5 separate regions of the Homo sapiens genome follow, and regions 1, 2, 3 and 4 are each linked to region 5. Evidence: promoter capture Hi-C in 16 types of primary human blood cells and fetal thymus (Javierre and others, 2016). All regions are on one chromosome and are shown on one strand. Each heading gives the region's core, a stretch centred on a gene start or on the middle of the fragment in contact. The rest is flanking DNA. Distances are from core to core; before and after follow the strand shown. Region 1 overlaps LINC00327 (long intergenic non-protein coding RNA 327). Region 2 overlaps SACS (sacsin molecular chaperone). Region 3 overlaps TNFRSF19 (TNF receptor superfamily member 19). Region 4 overlaps SACS (sacsin molecular chaperone). Region 5 holds the start of SPATA13 (spermatogenesis associated 13).

Evidence for each region. The method cuts DNA at HindIII sites, captures the fragments that hold promoters and counts their contacts. A CHiCAGO score of 5 or more calls a contact.
Region 1: a fragment that was not itself captured here is called in contact with the fragment with the promoter of SPATA13 in region 5 in 1 of 17 cell types (fetal thymus); the score reaches 8.5 in fetal thymus.
Region 2: a contact is called between a fragment that was not itself captured here and the fragment with the promoter of SPATA13 in region 5, in 1 of 17 cell types (fetal thymus). The highest score is 5.8, in fetal thymus.
Region 3: a fragment that was not itself captured here is called in contact with the fragment with the promoter of SPATA13 in region 5 in 1 of 17 cell types (fetal thymus); the score reaches 5.1 in fetal thymus.
Region 4: a fragment that was not itself captured here is called in contact with the fragment with the promoter of SPATA13 in region 5 in 1 of 17 cell types (monocytes); the score reaches 6.3 in monocytes.

What each region holds. Positions count from the first base shown.
Region 1 is chr13:23,473,385-23,476,084 of GRCh38, forward strand. All of the region lies in intron 2 of LINC00327 (long intergenic non-protein coding RNA 327), which reads left to right. Among named protein-coding and RNA genes, the nearest start is that of LINC00327, 5.2 kb to the left of the region's middle. The HindIII fragment of the contact is 926 bases long and covers 917-1,842 here.
Region 2 is chr13:23,362,361-23,365,060 of GRCh38, forward strand. The region is part of intron 6 of SACS (sacsin molecular chaperone); the gene reads right to left. Among named protein-coding and RNA genes, the nearest start is that of SACS-AS1, 55 kb to the right of the region's middle. The HindIII fragment of the contact is 3,544 bases long and covers 1-2,700 here.
Region 3 is chr13:23,572,813-23,575,512 of GRCh38, forward strand. All of the region lies in intron 1 of TNFRSF19 (TNF receptor superfamily member 19), which reads left to right. Among named protein-coding and RNA genes, the nearest start is that of TNFRSF19, 3.8 kb to the left of the region's middle. RefSeq lists enhancers at 1,399-1,568, 2,039-2,188. The HindIII fragment of the contact is 6,515 bases long and covers 1-2,700 here.
Region 4 is chr13:23,383,202-23,385,901 of GRCh38, forward strand. All of the region lies in intron 2 of SACS (sacsin molecular chaperone), which reads right to left. Among named protein-coding and RNA genes, the nearest start is that of SACS-AS1, 34 kb to the right of the region's middle. RefSeq lists enhancers at 909-968, 989-1,218. The HindIII fragment of the contact is 4,314 bases long and covers 1-2,700 here.
Region 5 is chr13:24,159,328-24,162,027 of GRCh38, forward strand. It overlaps SPATA13 (spermatogenesis associated 13), which reads left to right and starts at 1,393. Exons shown (of 13, transcript NM_001166271.3): 1 at 1,393-1,605. RefSeq lists a silencer at 1,284-1,343. The HindIII fragment of the contact is 10,500 bases long and covers 1-2,700 here.

The DNA.
Region 1 (2,700 bases), core at 130-2,629, 690 kb before region 5:
CCCTGCCAGTCACCCCTCCCTTTCCCACCCTTCCAGAGCATCTGGAAGGTCAACATTGTCACTGTTACAAAAGATAAAGAATGAAGGAATTTCACACATTTACCTAGGAAGATGTAAATCTTCTGTTGTAGATAATTTATTACAGAGTACTCCGTCCACATCCAGGTGCCCCACACAAGTGCTTCGCAAAGCATCTGTGGTGAAGGACCAGCTTTTGTGTTAAAATTTCAAATCCATTGCAGAAGGTTACTTTTTAAAATATAGTAGAAATAAATTACTAGAAAAATAAAATTTAAAAAGCAAAGGCACACAAAATACAAGCCCAAATGTTTTATTACCAGACTCAAGAGACAAAAGATTATATTTCTTTTTTTTTTTTTTGAGATGGAGTCTCGTTCTGTCACCCAGGCTGGAGCGCAGTGGCACCATCTCAGCTCACTGCAGGCTCTGCCTCCCAGATTCATGCCATTCTCCTGCCTCAGCCTCCTGAATAGCTGGGACTACAGGCGCCCTCCACCAAGCCCGGCTAATTTTTTGTATTTTTAGTAGAGACAGGGTTTCACCGTGTTAGCCAGGATGGTCTCAATCTCCTGACCTCGTGATCTGCCCGCCTCAGCCTCCCAAAGTGCTGGGATTACAGGCATGAGCCACCGTGCCCGGCCCCTAGACAAAATATTATATTTCAATCAATGTTATCAGAACAAATTTAAAATAGAAAAAAAGACAAGAATTACAAAAATGGTACATACTTATTGAAAGTGTGTGTATAGGCAATTAAAGTAGCCAATCATTTTTACATTAAAATATTTGTGTCATTCTACCATTGAAACTAAACAAAAGGTTATGAAAGGAATTGTAATTTCCCATATAGAAAACCTATAAGTTTTGAATAAACAGCATGTATAAAAATATCAAAAGCTTTTATTGTAAAAAATGAGCCTGATTCTTGTTTTTTAATTAATTTATGTTGGATTGTTGACAATGCTATTCACAGAAGATAATGCATGTCTAAACTGTTTCTACGTATTTTTTCCCTTGTTTTTTAAGATACAATTTACGTATCATAAAATTATCATTTTAAAGTGTACAAACAATTGGCAGGGCACAGTGGCTCTCGCCTGTAATCCTAGCACTTTGGGAGGCCGAGGCGGGTGGATCACTTGAAGTCAGAAGTTTGAGACCAGGCTGACCAACATGGTGAAACTCCGTCTCTACTAAAAATACAGAATTAGCTGGGCAGGTGGTGCATGCCTGTAATCTCAGCTATTTGGGAGGCTGAGGCAGGAGAATCGCTTGAACCCGGGAGGTGGAGGTTGCAGTGACCTGAGATTGTGCCACTGCATTTCAGCCTGAGCAACACGAGAGAACCTCCATCTCAAAAAAAAAAAAAATTAAAGTGCACAATTCAGTGGTTCTCAGTGTATCATATTCACAATTTGTGCAACCAAAAGCACTATCTAATTCCAGGATGTTTTCATCACCCCAAATGGAGATCTCATACTCTTGGGCAGCCATTGCCCAGTCTCCCGGCCATCAGCCCTGAACACTTCCTAATCTATTCTGTTTCTTTATAGTTTTGCCCATTCTGAACATTTCATATAAACGGAATAAAAGGCTACAACATGTAGCCTTTTTTGTCTGACGTCTTTTACTCAGCATAGTGTTTTCAAGGTTCATCCACATTGTTGTATGTGTCAGTAATTCATTCCTTTTTGTGGCTGAATAGTATTTCTTTGTGTGGATAGACCACAATTTATTTATTCATTCATCTGTTAGTGGACAATTGAGTTGTTTCCACTTTTTGGCTATTATGAATAATGCTACTGTGAACATTAAAATGTAAGCTTTTGTGTGAACATACATTTTCATTTTCTTGGCTATATCCCTAGGAATTGAATTGCTGGGTTATATATGAGAACTGTATGTTTAACTTTTTTAGGAACCAGCTGTTTTCCACAGTGGTTGTACCATTTTATATACCCACCAGCAATTTATTAGAGTTCCAATTTTTCCACATCCTTGCCAATATTATTTCCCTTTTAAAAATTATTATTATAGTCATTCTAGTGTGTCTGAAATGATATCTCATTGTAGTTTTGATTTGCATTTCTCTGATGATCAATGATGTTGAGCACCTTTTCAAATACCTGGTTGCCATTTGTATGCCTTCTTTGGAGAAATGTCTGTTCGAATCATTTGCTCACTTTTTTAATGGAGTTTTTTACTGTTGAGTTGTCAGAGAGCTTCATTCATATATTCTAGATACTAGATGCTTATGAGATACATGGTTTGCAGGTATTTTATTTCATTCTGTGGGTTTTCTTTTCTTTAGGACAGTCTCTTGATAGTGTCCTTTAATGCACTGTGATGCTGTGATGCTGATGAAATCCAATTTGTCTATTTTTGTCTTTGTTTACTTAGGCATTTGGGATCATATCTAGGAAACTAATGCCTAAATGATGAAGATTTACACACATTTTCATATAAGAGTCTTATACTTTGGGCTCTTTTTAAATTTAGTGGTTTTTTAAAATGTGTGTTTTGTTGTTTCTTTCAAGATACAGGGTCTTGCTCTGTTGCCCAGGCTGGAGTATAGCAGTGCAATTACAGCTCACGGCAACCTCAAACTCCTCGGCTCAAATGATTTTCCCACCTCAGCCTCCAGAGTAGCAGGCACTACACTATCCATTTTTAAAATAT
Region 2 (2,700 bases), core at 199-2,698, 800 kb before region 5:
CATTATATAAAAATGAATAAAAATAAGTTGACCTTAAGAGCTTCTGGCTGTGAAACAAAGTGCCAGTAAAGGGGAAAAGCCATGATACAAGATGACTGCTCACATCTGAATGCAAGAGAAAGATATTCTCAAATACACAAGAGCCTGGAGGGCTCTCAATAAATGTTTGTTAAATAAAGAGATCAGAGATCACTGCCACCTGCTTTTATATAATACATTCCTTTTTTTTTTTTTTTTTTTTTTGAGATGGAGTCTCACTCTGTCACCCAGGCTGGAGTGCAGTGGCAAGATCTCGGCTCACTGCAATCTCCACCTCCCAGGTTCAAGTGATTCTCCTGCCTCAGCCTCCTGAGTAGCTGGGATTACAGATATGCATCACCACGCACGGCTAATTTTTGTATTTTTAGTAGAAACAGGGTTTCGCCATGTTGACCAGGCTGGTTTCAAACTCCTGACCTCAGGTGATCCACCTGCCTCAGCCTCTCAAAGTGCTGGGATTACAGGCAGGAGCCACCATGCCCAGCCTGCATTTATTTCATTTTTTATTTATGTATGTATTTATTTTTGAGACAGAGTTTCGCCCTTGTTGCCCAGGCTGGACTGCAATGGCACAGTCTCAGCTCACTGCAACCTCTGCCTCCCGGGTTCAAGGGTTCTCCTGCCTCAGCCTCCCAAGTAGCTGGGATTACAGGTGCTCACCACCACGCCCAGATAATTTTTGTATTTGTATTAGAGATGGGGTTTCACCATGTTGGCCAGGCTGGTCTCAAATTCCTGACCTCAGGTGATCTGTCCACCTCAGCCTCCCAAAGTGCTGGGATTACAGGCATGAGCCACCGCACCTGGCCTACATTTATTTTTTACTTACTTATATATTTATTTTTGAGACACAGTTTCGCTCTTGTTGCCCAGGCTGGACTGCAATAGTGGGGTCTTGGCTCACTGCAACCTCTGCCTCCCAGGTTCAAGCGATTCTCCTGCCTCAGCCTCCCAAGTAGCTGTGATTACAGGTGCCCGCCACCACACCTGGCTAATTTTTGTATTTTTAGTAGAGACAGGTTTCAACATGTTGGCCAGGCTGGTCTCGAATTCCTGACCTCAGGTGATCTGCCCACTTGGCCTCCCAAAGTGCTGGGATTACAGGTGTGAGCCACCGCACCCAGCCCACGTTTATTTTAAATTGGCCACTTTTAAAGAGCCTATCTCTAAATATACCTATGCATAAACTCGCAAAATAATCCAGTTTCAAATGTTTTTTAAAACAAGGTGAAGTCAAGGCTAGAAGCAAAAACATCATAGGCTCTCCTTACACTCTTACCTTAGCAGTTCCACAGCACATACCGTCATCAGTATGATACCAGGTATAAAACATTATCACATATATTATCTCATATAATCCTCAAACTATGTGGGAGAAAGATTTTCTCATACCACTTGCAGGCAAGCAGTAAGTCAGTGTGAGGGTCACAGCTGCCACTGAGTGTAACAGTGCCTGGGGGGCAGTACAATGGGGTAGTACTGTGTAGGATTAGGACTTAACCTGAAGTCTCTTGAATCCAATGTTACATTAAGTCACAGGCTCTTAGAGACAAGATACCTTGCAGGCTAATCCTCTTATTATAAAAATGATCTGACCTCTGTGATGACTGGCCCAAGTCACTAAGGTAGCAGCAGTCAGGACTAGAACGCACACCTCCTGATGTTATGTCCCACACACCTCTTTTTATAGAGTATAGAAAGTACAACTTTCAAGTGACAAATGTGAGCTAAGAATGACTATATGAGACATAACAAATGCTAGATATTTAACTAAATGTTAACTGGCCTCCTAAATCATAAAACATCTTTTTAAAAATACATGACTTAAATCTCTTTAAAAAGGTGTCTCAGAAGGTCTGACTTGATCCCACTTTTTCTCAGTAACTTTCTGTCACATACAGTCATTGACAATGACTTCAGAGGTATACTAAATTGAAGTGATGTGATCTCGGCTCACTACAACCTCCGCCTCCCGAGTTCAAGCGATTCTCCGGCCTCAGCCTCCTGAGTAGCTGGGATTACAGGCGTCTGCCACCACGCCCAGCTAATTTTTATATTTTTAGTAGAGACGGGGTTTTGCCACGTTCGCCAGGCTGGTCCCAAACTCCTGACCTCAGGTGATCTGCCCACCTCAGCCTCCCAAAGTGCTAGGATTACAGGCGTGAGCCACCGCACCCAGCCAGAGGTATACTACAATTTATGAACATTCTTTTTGACACCAAAGCTCCCCGGAGTAGAAGTGAGATATTAGGAGTCTATTGGTTAGGGTTCTTATTGGATTAATAATTTATTAGTTTATGGCTTTCTTATCATGTTTCCTTTCATTTTCCTTGTTCTCTCCTCTCCTTCAATCTTTCTTCCCACCCAACTTCCAAACAATGTCGAGGGTACTCCTAAAGCGGAAAATACACAAAAGCATGGCCTTTCACAACATCTTTCCAAATGCAGGAAAGTGTTACTATACATAAATGGTGTCCCTTTATCCTACTGATAATATAAAATACAAGTTGTTTGAATAGAATAAGAGGCTTTGGTCATTACATTGCTTGTCATTTTGAGTTTTCAGATTTTATTCTTTGTTCTCTAAAAATACCAACTGGTGGAGACACCTTCCCACCAAAAGCAGAGAAAAACATCTGAAGAAGTGGACATAAACATGCC
Region 3 (2,700 bases), core at 89-2,588, 590 kb before region 5:
CAGATATAGTCCTATTACTTCTACTGAACAAAACCCTTATGTGACATTTTTCAAAGCACTTTCCTATCTGTTGCTTCAATGGCAGCTTTGTTACTACAGAAAGTCCAAGTCTTCAAAAGACTTTTATGTTGAGTCCTGATACTGTCACCAATTAGCTATATGACCTCAAGAGAGTTTCCTCATGTGTGAAGTGAGGGAGTTGATCACATCATCTTTATGAAATAAGCAGAATTGGAATTTTTATGGCCATTTTACAGATGAGGAAACTGAGGCTATAGAAAACGAATGTCCCTATCTTAACAAGGTCACATGGCTGATTTTCCCAGTTCTAGTCCAATGTTCTTTCCAGTCTACCATGCAGGGTCTGCTTTCCAACAACTGCTTAAACAAATGCACTCTGTAGCTCATCAAAGAACAATATTAGTTTGAAAAATAAAGACAGCCACTTCCTATTGTAGTGCATTTTTTTTTTGTTTCCATGATAGATATGTCAGTCAGCTGGATTCGTCTGATTATTTTCCAACTGTTCCTTCTACTTCTGGACTTCTAAGCTGTCTAAACACAGTAGCTGCTACCCATAATTTAACATAATTTAACACGTAAAATAATTTTCACAAAAAGTTTAATGCATCAATGTGATGTGGAATTATATATGTATTTGTGTGTTTGCCTCTGTGTGTGTGTGTACATACGAGTTTGGCATTATATCAACACATATTTGTGTGTTTTGAAGGAATTGATATTTTCTTAGATGATGCCAGTGGCATCCAAAAACAGTTTAATAATTAAAGGTTAATTTTCCTCCAGGGAAATTCCCAGTGGGATTCTGTGAAACTTCAGTTGACAAACTCAATGTGCATTTCAAACATGATATGATATGTGTTTCATATCATGTTTGATTATGTTAAGACTCTTGAGCATGTTTTCATTATCTCTTTGCTTTTCTTCCTTGAAAAAATATATCTTGGGGCCAGGAGCGGTGGCTCACGCCTGTAATCCCAGCACTTTGGGAGGCCGAGGCAGACGGATCACGAGGTCAGGAGATCGAGACCATCCTGGCTAACATGGTGAAACCCCATCTCTACTAAAAATACAAAAAATTAGCCGGACAAGGTGGCAGGCGCCTGTAGTCCCAGCTACTTGGGAGGCTGAGGCAGAAAAATGGTGTGAACCCGGGAGGCAGAGCTTTCAGTGAGCCGAGATGGCGCCACTGCACTCCAGCCTGGGTGACAGAGTGAGACTCTGTCTCAAAAAAAAAAAAAAAAAAAATCTATCTATCTATATCTTGTGTGAAAAATTTTAATTTAGTTACTAATAAAATTTTATACAAATACAGGACTCTCATGGCCAAACAACTGCCCTCATAATAGGGCTTATCACCCTCTTTAGGATTCCTACATATACAAGATTATTACTAACATGACCTAATATTTATTAATTCACTCATTATCAATTAATTCAATATCAAGTACTTGTGCAAGGATAAATAACATGTGCAAGATTATAGGAATAATTCAGTGGCAGCATTGTGATCTACATTTTTTTTGTTCTGGGGCTAGGTGATTCATTCTTTTTAAGAATTACACAAAGCTGAACTTGACTGTCAGCAAACATTATAGCCAAAATTTTGGCCAAAAATATGGGCTCCAGTTTTTTTTTTTCCTTTTATATATTTTGTAAGAACTATTAGACATTTTTAATAGTATTTTCTGTCAGGATGGCCATAAAGGACCTCCCTAAGCCATGAAGGCATAATCTGTTCTCCCTCTGCTTCAGGAGTGAACTGAACTCAACCATCTGGCATTGGTTTAGTCGGATTCTCTTTCTGTGATGGCAAGGCCAGTCCAAGCCACCCTGGAAGAATGAGTGATTTTGTCCCCTTTAAAGGATGGTTCTTTAAAACGTTGTCCACCTGGGTGAGCTCTGTGATGGGAGGGCAGAGGGAGGCTCCCTGGTGGCTGTGTTGGCTGTGCTTTAATTTCTCCTCTACTGTCACTAGTCATTCAGCTTTGGCTCCAAAGTTGTTACCTCAAACCCACCCACTTGCCAAAATCAATACTCACTTCTTTAGATTAAGTAGGTAGTTTAAAACCCTCCTTTGTGACTTAAATTTTCTCTTTGATGAGAAGGGGAAGGAGAAGTCATGTGGGGGTTTCCAATGACTTCATAAAACCATTCCTTCCAACATAACCCACTGTCTTTGAGAGGAGTTCTGATAAAGATAGTTTTCTCCATCCTGTTAAATGCCCCCCATTCTTTGGTGGCTCTATAGCTTAGCACCATGGGCTGCTGCCCAGCCAGCCTGGCCTCAAGCCAGCCCTAGGTCGGGGAGTCCACCATGTTCATCAGGAAGGAGAGAAGGAGAGTCAATGGACTGTCTCTTCCCTCATCGAACTCATGAAAAGGGTCTAGCCAATGAGGTACTCAGGGCCAAACTCACAAAGATCAGTGCAAGTGCTGCAACTTGTAACAACTTTGCTCTGTAAGTGTCTTGAGCTCCACTTACAGGAGGGGGCTATAAAAATAGCCTCCTTGGGTTTTTCATATATATTGGTTTACGCACCCATGGTATGGTGAAGATTATGTTAAGATACAGAAAGCCCAGATTCTGATTCCAGCTTTGTTAATTAACTTGGTGTGCAGCATTCAGGAAGTCACTGGGCATTGGCCTCACGGTGCTCCCTCAGCCCCATGCTGATA
Region 4 (2,700 bases), core at 117-2,616, 780 kb before region 5:
ACTGACACATCCAATCAGCCACCATGTCGAAGTGTTTGACCACGATAAATATCGTTTGGCTTCATTGCCACCTCCTGTTGGTATTGGCACAGCTCTCTCCTGTCCCTTACTCAGGCCACCACTCAGGGCCCCAGCTGTTCTCACTGCCCCACATCCTTTCTCCTCCAATCAACCCTTCATATTACCATCAAGTTATTGTATAATCGAGTGTGACTAAATCCCTCCCCAGCATCAAGATATTTTTAGTAGTTCAAGTTACCTGCATCGTAATGTCCAAATGTTTCCCAGCCTTGTCTCCATCCCTCCTTCCTGAACAGCCCCAGAGCTCTGCAGGCCTGTTCATGCCTTTGTACTGCTTTTTTTGCACCTTTCTCAGCCCATTCTGTTTCCTCCTGCAGCATCTGGCTCCTCCCTCCATGTTCAATTTTGATGGCCCACCCTTGATAGCCCCATTCAAATGTCACTTCAAAATTGTCTCTCTCCCCCCAACACTGTTTAAGGAAAAACGGCAATAAGTCCAGGACAAACGACGCTTATGTCTCCTTTCTTACTCTCTCTGAATACTTTGTATATCCACCCATCCCAGCTCTTTCCATATTACACAAACCACATATTTACTTGCTAAGTCCCCCTCTGGAGACATTCAAGAGCAGAAAACATGCCTCCATATCCCTTGTTCACACCATCACCCTCTCCCCAACCCCAGTGCCTGGCACAGAACCCAGCAAATGTGTGCACAAATCAGGATGGAGATCAGTAAGAAGGGTCATCGCAAGGTCTTTCTGGGGAGGGTTGGTTAAAAAGCTAGAACTTCAGCCTTAAATCATGTAATGGAAGAATACTGATCTCATACTTAAGTGGTTAAGTGCATGAATGGGGTATTAGAAACACTCCTTCACATTTCAGGAGGTAGCAATAAAAGACATCAGAGATGGGAAGACTCAAATAACATTACTGATTTTCCACCCATCAATCAGTGCTCAGGCAGAAGAGCAGAAGGCTTTCTCTAGCCAAGCCCGTGCAAGGTGACTTCCGCCTTCGTAGACATCTTCAGCATTTAACTTCCACTCATCAGTGACTGCACAGGAATGAAATGCATTTACTCATCAACTATGGAAAGTCCCTCTTGATCATGGCCTCTTGTATGTCACTCTGTGTTCCACATCATTCACTGCCAAATAAGCGAATGTAGTGATGTTCACATGTGTGGCTTGTCATGACCACTCACTATAACCACTTACCATCTCTGTACAAATTTAAATTAGGGGAAGAAAAGGAAGTCCTTCTTAACTTTTCTGTTTTGTGTTCATTTCTTTAATAATTCTCTTATTGGACAGATATTAATAAACTAGTTATTAGAGAAAGTTGTGAGTTGATTTATCCTTTCACAGCAAACTCCAAAACAATTTTTCAAAGCCTAAGGAAGAGATGCACCCATTCACTTTATATTAGTTTGGGAGATGTAATGGTGAAAAAAACAGGGCCCAAGGGGAGTTGGGATTCAGACTGTGGAGGACCAGAGAATGAAGGAATCATTGGCATTCATGCAGGATCTAAAACTTTTTCATTTTTTGGGCCAAAATTTCATTTTTTTGGCACAGGAATACCTCAGAGATATTGAAGATTTGGTTCCAAACCAGTGCAATATAATGAATATCACAATAAAATAAGTCACATAATATTTTGTTTTCCCGGTGCAGATAAAAGTTATGTTTATACACTATACTATAGTCTATTAAGTGTGAAATAGCATTATGTCTTTAAAAATGTACATTCCTGGCCGGGCATGGTGGCTCACGCCTGTAATCCCAGGACTTTGGGAGGCCGAGGTAGGCAGATCACGAGGTCAGGAGATCGAGAACATCCTGGCTAACACGGTGAAACGCCATCTCTACTAAAAATACAAATACAGCCTGGGCGACAGAGGGAGACTCTGTCTCAAAAAAAAAAAAAAGTTTTATCATGAGATTGCCCCAACTCAGTCACATCATCAGGCTCCACTGCTAATTCTAGTTCTTGCTGTTTCCATCACTTCTGTAGTTACTTCCTCCAATGAAATCTTGAACTCCTCAAAGTCATCCACAAGGGTTGGAATCAACTTCTTCCAAACTCCTGTTAATGTTGATATTTTGACCTTCTCCCATGAATCATGGATGTTCTTTTTTTTTTTTTTTTGAGATAGAGTTTTGCTCTTGTTGCCCAGGCTGGAGTGCAAGGGTGTGATCCTGGCTCACTGCAACTTCCGCTTCCTGGGTTCAAGCGATTCTCCTGCCTCAGCCTCCCAAGTAGCTGGGATTACAAGCATGTGCCACCATGCCCGGTAATTTTGTATTTTTAGTAGTGATGAGGTTTCATCATGTTGGTTAGGCTGGTCTCGAATTCCTGACTTCAGCTGATCCACCCGCCTCGGCCACCCAAAGTGCTAGGACTACAGGCATGAGCCACAGCACCTGGCCAATCATGGATGTTCTTAATGGAATCTAGAATGGTGAATCCTTTCCAGGAACTTTTCAATTCATTTTGCCCAGATCCGTCAGAGGAATCACTATCTATGGCAGCTATAGCCTCATAAAATGTATTTCTTAAATAATAAGACTTGAAAGTCAAAATTATTCCTTGATCTGTGGGCTGCAGAATGGATGCTGTGTTAGCAGGCAGGAAACGATATTCATCGCCTTGTACTTCTCCATCAGAGCTCTT
Region 5 (2,700 bases), core at 143-2,642:
AATTTCAATAACAATTCAAAGAATTAAATAAAATTTGCCCATATTTCCACCACCCACAGATAATTATCATTAATCTTGGAGTGTGCTTTAATTAATAGACTATTTTTAGAGCAGTTTTAGGTTTAGAAAACAGGAATGGAAAGTACACGGAGTTCTGATGTACTCCCTCACGCCCCTCCCTCCACACACAGCTGCTTGTACTGACATCTTACATTCGAGTGGCACATGTGTTATGATTGATGGGCCCATGTTGTTACATTAAGATGAACTAAGTCCATTACTTACAGGAGGCTCACGCCGCATGCTGTTCATTCTGTGAGTTTTGAGAAATGCATAATGACATGAAGCCACCATTATAATGTCATACAGAGTTTTTTCAATATTTTAAAAAACATACATAAAATTAATTTTCACTTTTCATTGGGTAATATAATTTTTGTTTTTTATTTTACAGATTGTGGGTATTGTTCTTTGATTATAAAAGACAATAGACATTTATAAATAATAGTGCTGGCCACTAAATGAATCATCTAAAAAACTACACTGGTAGAAAGCATGCATTTATTTTATGAATTCCATTAGCTGCCTATCAGGGAACATGGAGCACTGGGGCACAGATCCCAGCACAGAAGGGTTTGCTTCTCTTCTGTGGTTTTCATGTCAATTAATGATTAGGCCTTGAGCCTCACAAGAAAGGTGATAGGCCTTTGAGTCGGTTTACTGCAACAGTCTACTCAAGACTTGCCCCAGGCCCTGGGAAACATGTAGGTTTAAAAATCCCTACCCTGCGTTTTCCTTTCACAGGGAGTGAACTTCTGGCCCAGGCAGTGGGCAGTGGGGCACGGTTGCCCCGGAGATGAGACTCCTCTTCCCGCCCTGGGGGGTGGGGGCTGGCTGGTGGCTGAGGGAACTATTTTTGTTTGTTTCTTTTTTTAAAAAACGGAGTCTGGCTGTGTCCTCCAGGTTGGAGTGCAGTGGCGCGATCTCGGCACACTGCAACCTCCGCCTCTCGGGTTCAAGTGATTCTCCTGCCTTAGCCTCCTGAGTAGCTGGGATCACAGGCGCCTGTCACCACGCCCGGTTAATTTTTATTTTTATTAGAGACGGGGTTTCACCATGTTGGCCAAGCTGCTCTCAAATTCCTGACCTCAGGTGATCCGCCCACCTCGGCCTCCAAAAGTGCTAGGATTACAGGCAAGAGCCACTGCGCCTGGCCGGGGAACTGTTTTTGATGGGTGGGGTCCCCGGCTGTGGTTGGTAGTGTGGGGGCGTGGCCGAGGGTGTGGCCTGAGGGAGTGAGCTAACCGGGGGCGTGGCCTGATATGGGGCGGGGGGAAGAGCCGGGCTGGGGGCGTGGCCTGGTGGGGAGCGGGGCTGGGGCGTGGCTTGGCTGAGTGTGCTGCCGCGGCGCGGGAGGAGAGTGTGCGTTGCGCTTTCTCCCGCGATCGCCCTGCCGGTCGCTAGCTCCGAGGGCGCGCACTGGATCCCAGGCTCCTCCGAGAGTGCGGCGACCTCGGGGCTCCGCCGGCACCGGAGGTGGCTCTGAGGGCAGGGACGTGTTGGACACGCTGACTTTGTAGGCTCCGCCAAGAGGCGCCGCAGGAGGTAAGACGGCTTCGGGCGCGCGGCTCTGCCGGGCGGGCGCGGGCATGGGCTGTTAGGTAGAATATCGGGAGGATTTGAGTCCCAGTGGACTGCCTCGGGGCTTCGGGATGTCCAGCTCCCAGCTGCTTGGCCTCTGCTTCCCCCGCCGGTGGAGGCTACCGGGTGCTCACCTGTTAGGTCCGTGCGCCCGCTCCCTGCCCGGCGGTGGCTCTGCGCCCTCTGGGCCACCCGGCACCATCGCTTTTGGGAGGACATGCACGTGGTGTTCTCGCAAAAGGCCGTTTCCAGCCGGAAGCCTGCAGGGAGGTCGCCTTGTAACTTCACCCGCGCTCCCAGCTCGCGGGGCCTGGCCTACAGGGGCGGCCGTGGGGGTGGCAGAGTCTGGGGAGCCTGGCGCGGCGGAGCCCTGTAACGCTCTGCTCCATCGGGTGGCGTGGCTGGTGCCTCCGGGGACCCGGAGCGATGCGGTTGGAGAGCTTAGTTTAGAAAGCAAGTTTCTCTTGGTACCAGCGGAGTCTCGTCCCAGGGGAAAGATTTTGGGACCCGGTGCCCATCGTCTGTGGACTGCAGGGAATGCATTGGCGGAGTTGGTTTGGTCCCATTCTGTGCAGGAGGTGGGGGAATTGGTACTCCAGCCCCAGGCAGGTAGAAGCCCGCGCTGCTGCCAGCGTCAGGGGGAGCTCGGGTGACTTGGGCTGGGCCACCCATCTGACTGCAAGGTTACAGAGCTTGAGCAAATTTCCCCTCCCTCCAAGTGCAGGAAAACCAAACCAAAGCAAGCAAACAAAACCCTGTGGGTCATTTGCTTCCCAGCATTGCATAGGGATGTGGATAAATAGAATAATACTGTGAATTTATTCAGCTCTTGTTCCCATGGCTTCCCATAGCCTTATATTATGCACCTCCCCCTGCCAGCATTTTCTCTGTCCCCACCTTCGGTTTTTGCTGCCTCGTGTTTTCTTCTCTGTGAACCTTTCCTGGTCACCCAGCGATTTGCTCTCCTTTATTCCCCTTGCTAACAGGCGGAGAAATCTCACTCCTTTTCTTTTTCCACCTTTCCCAACAAATTCTCCTTTTTTCCTAATGTCCCCCTCC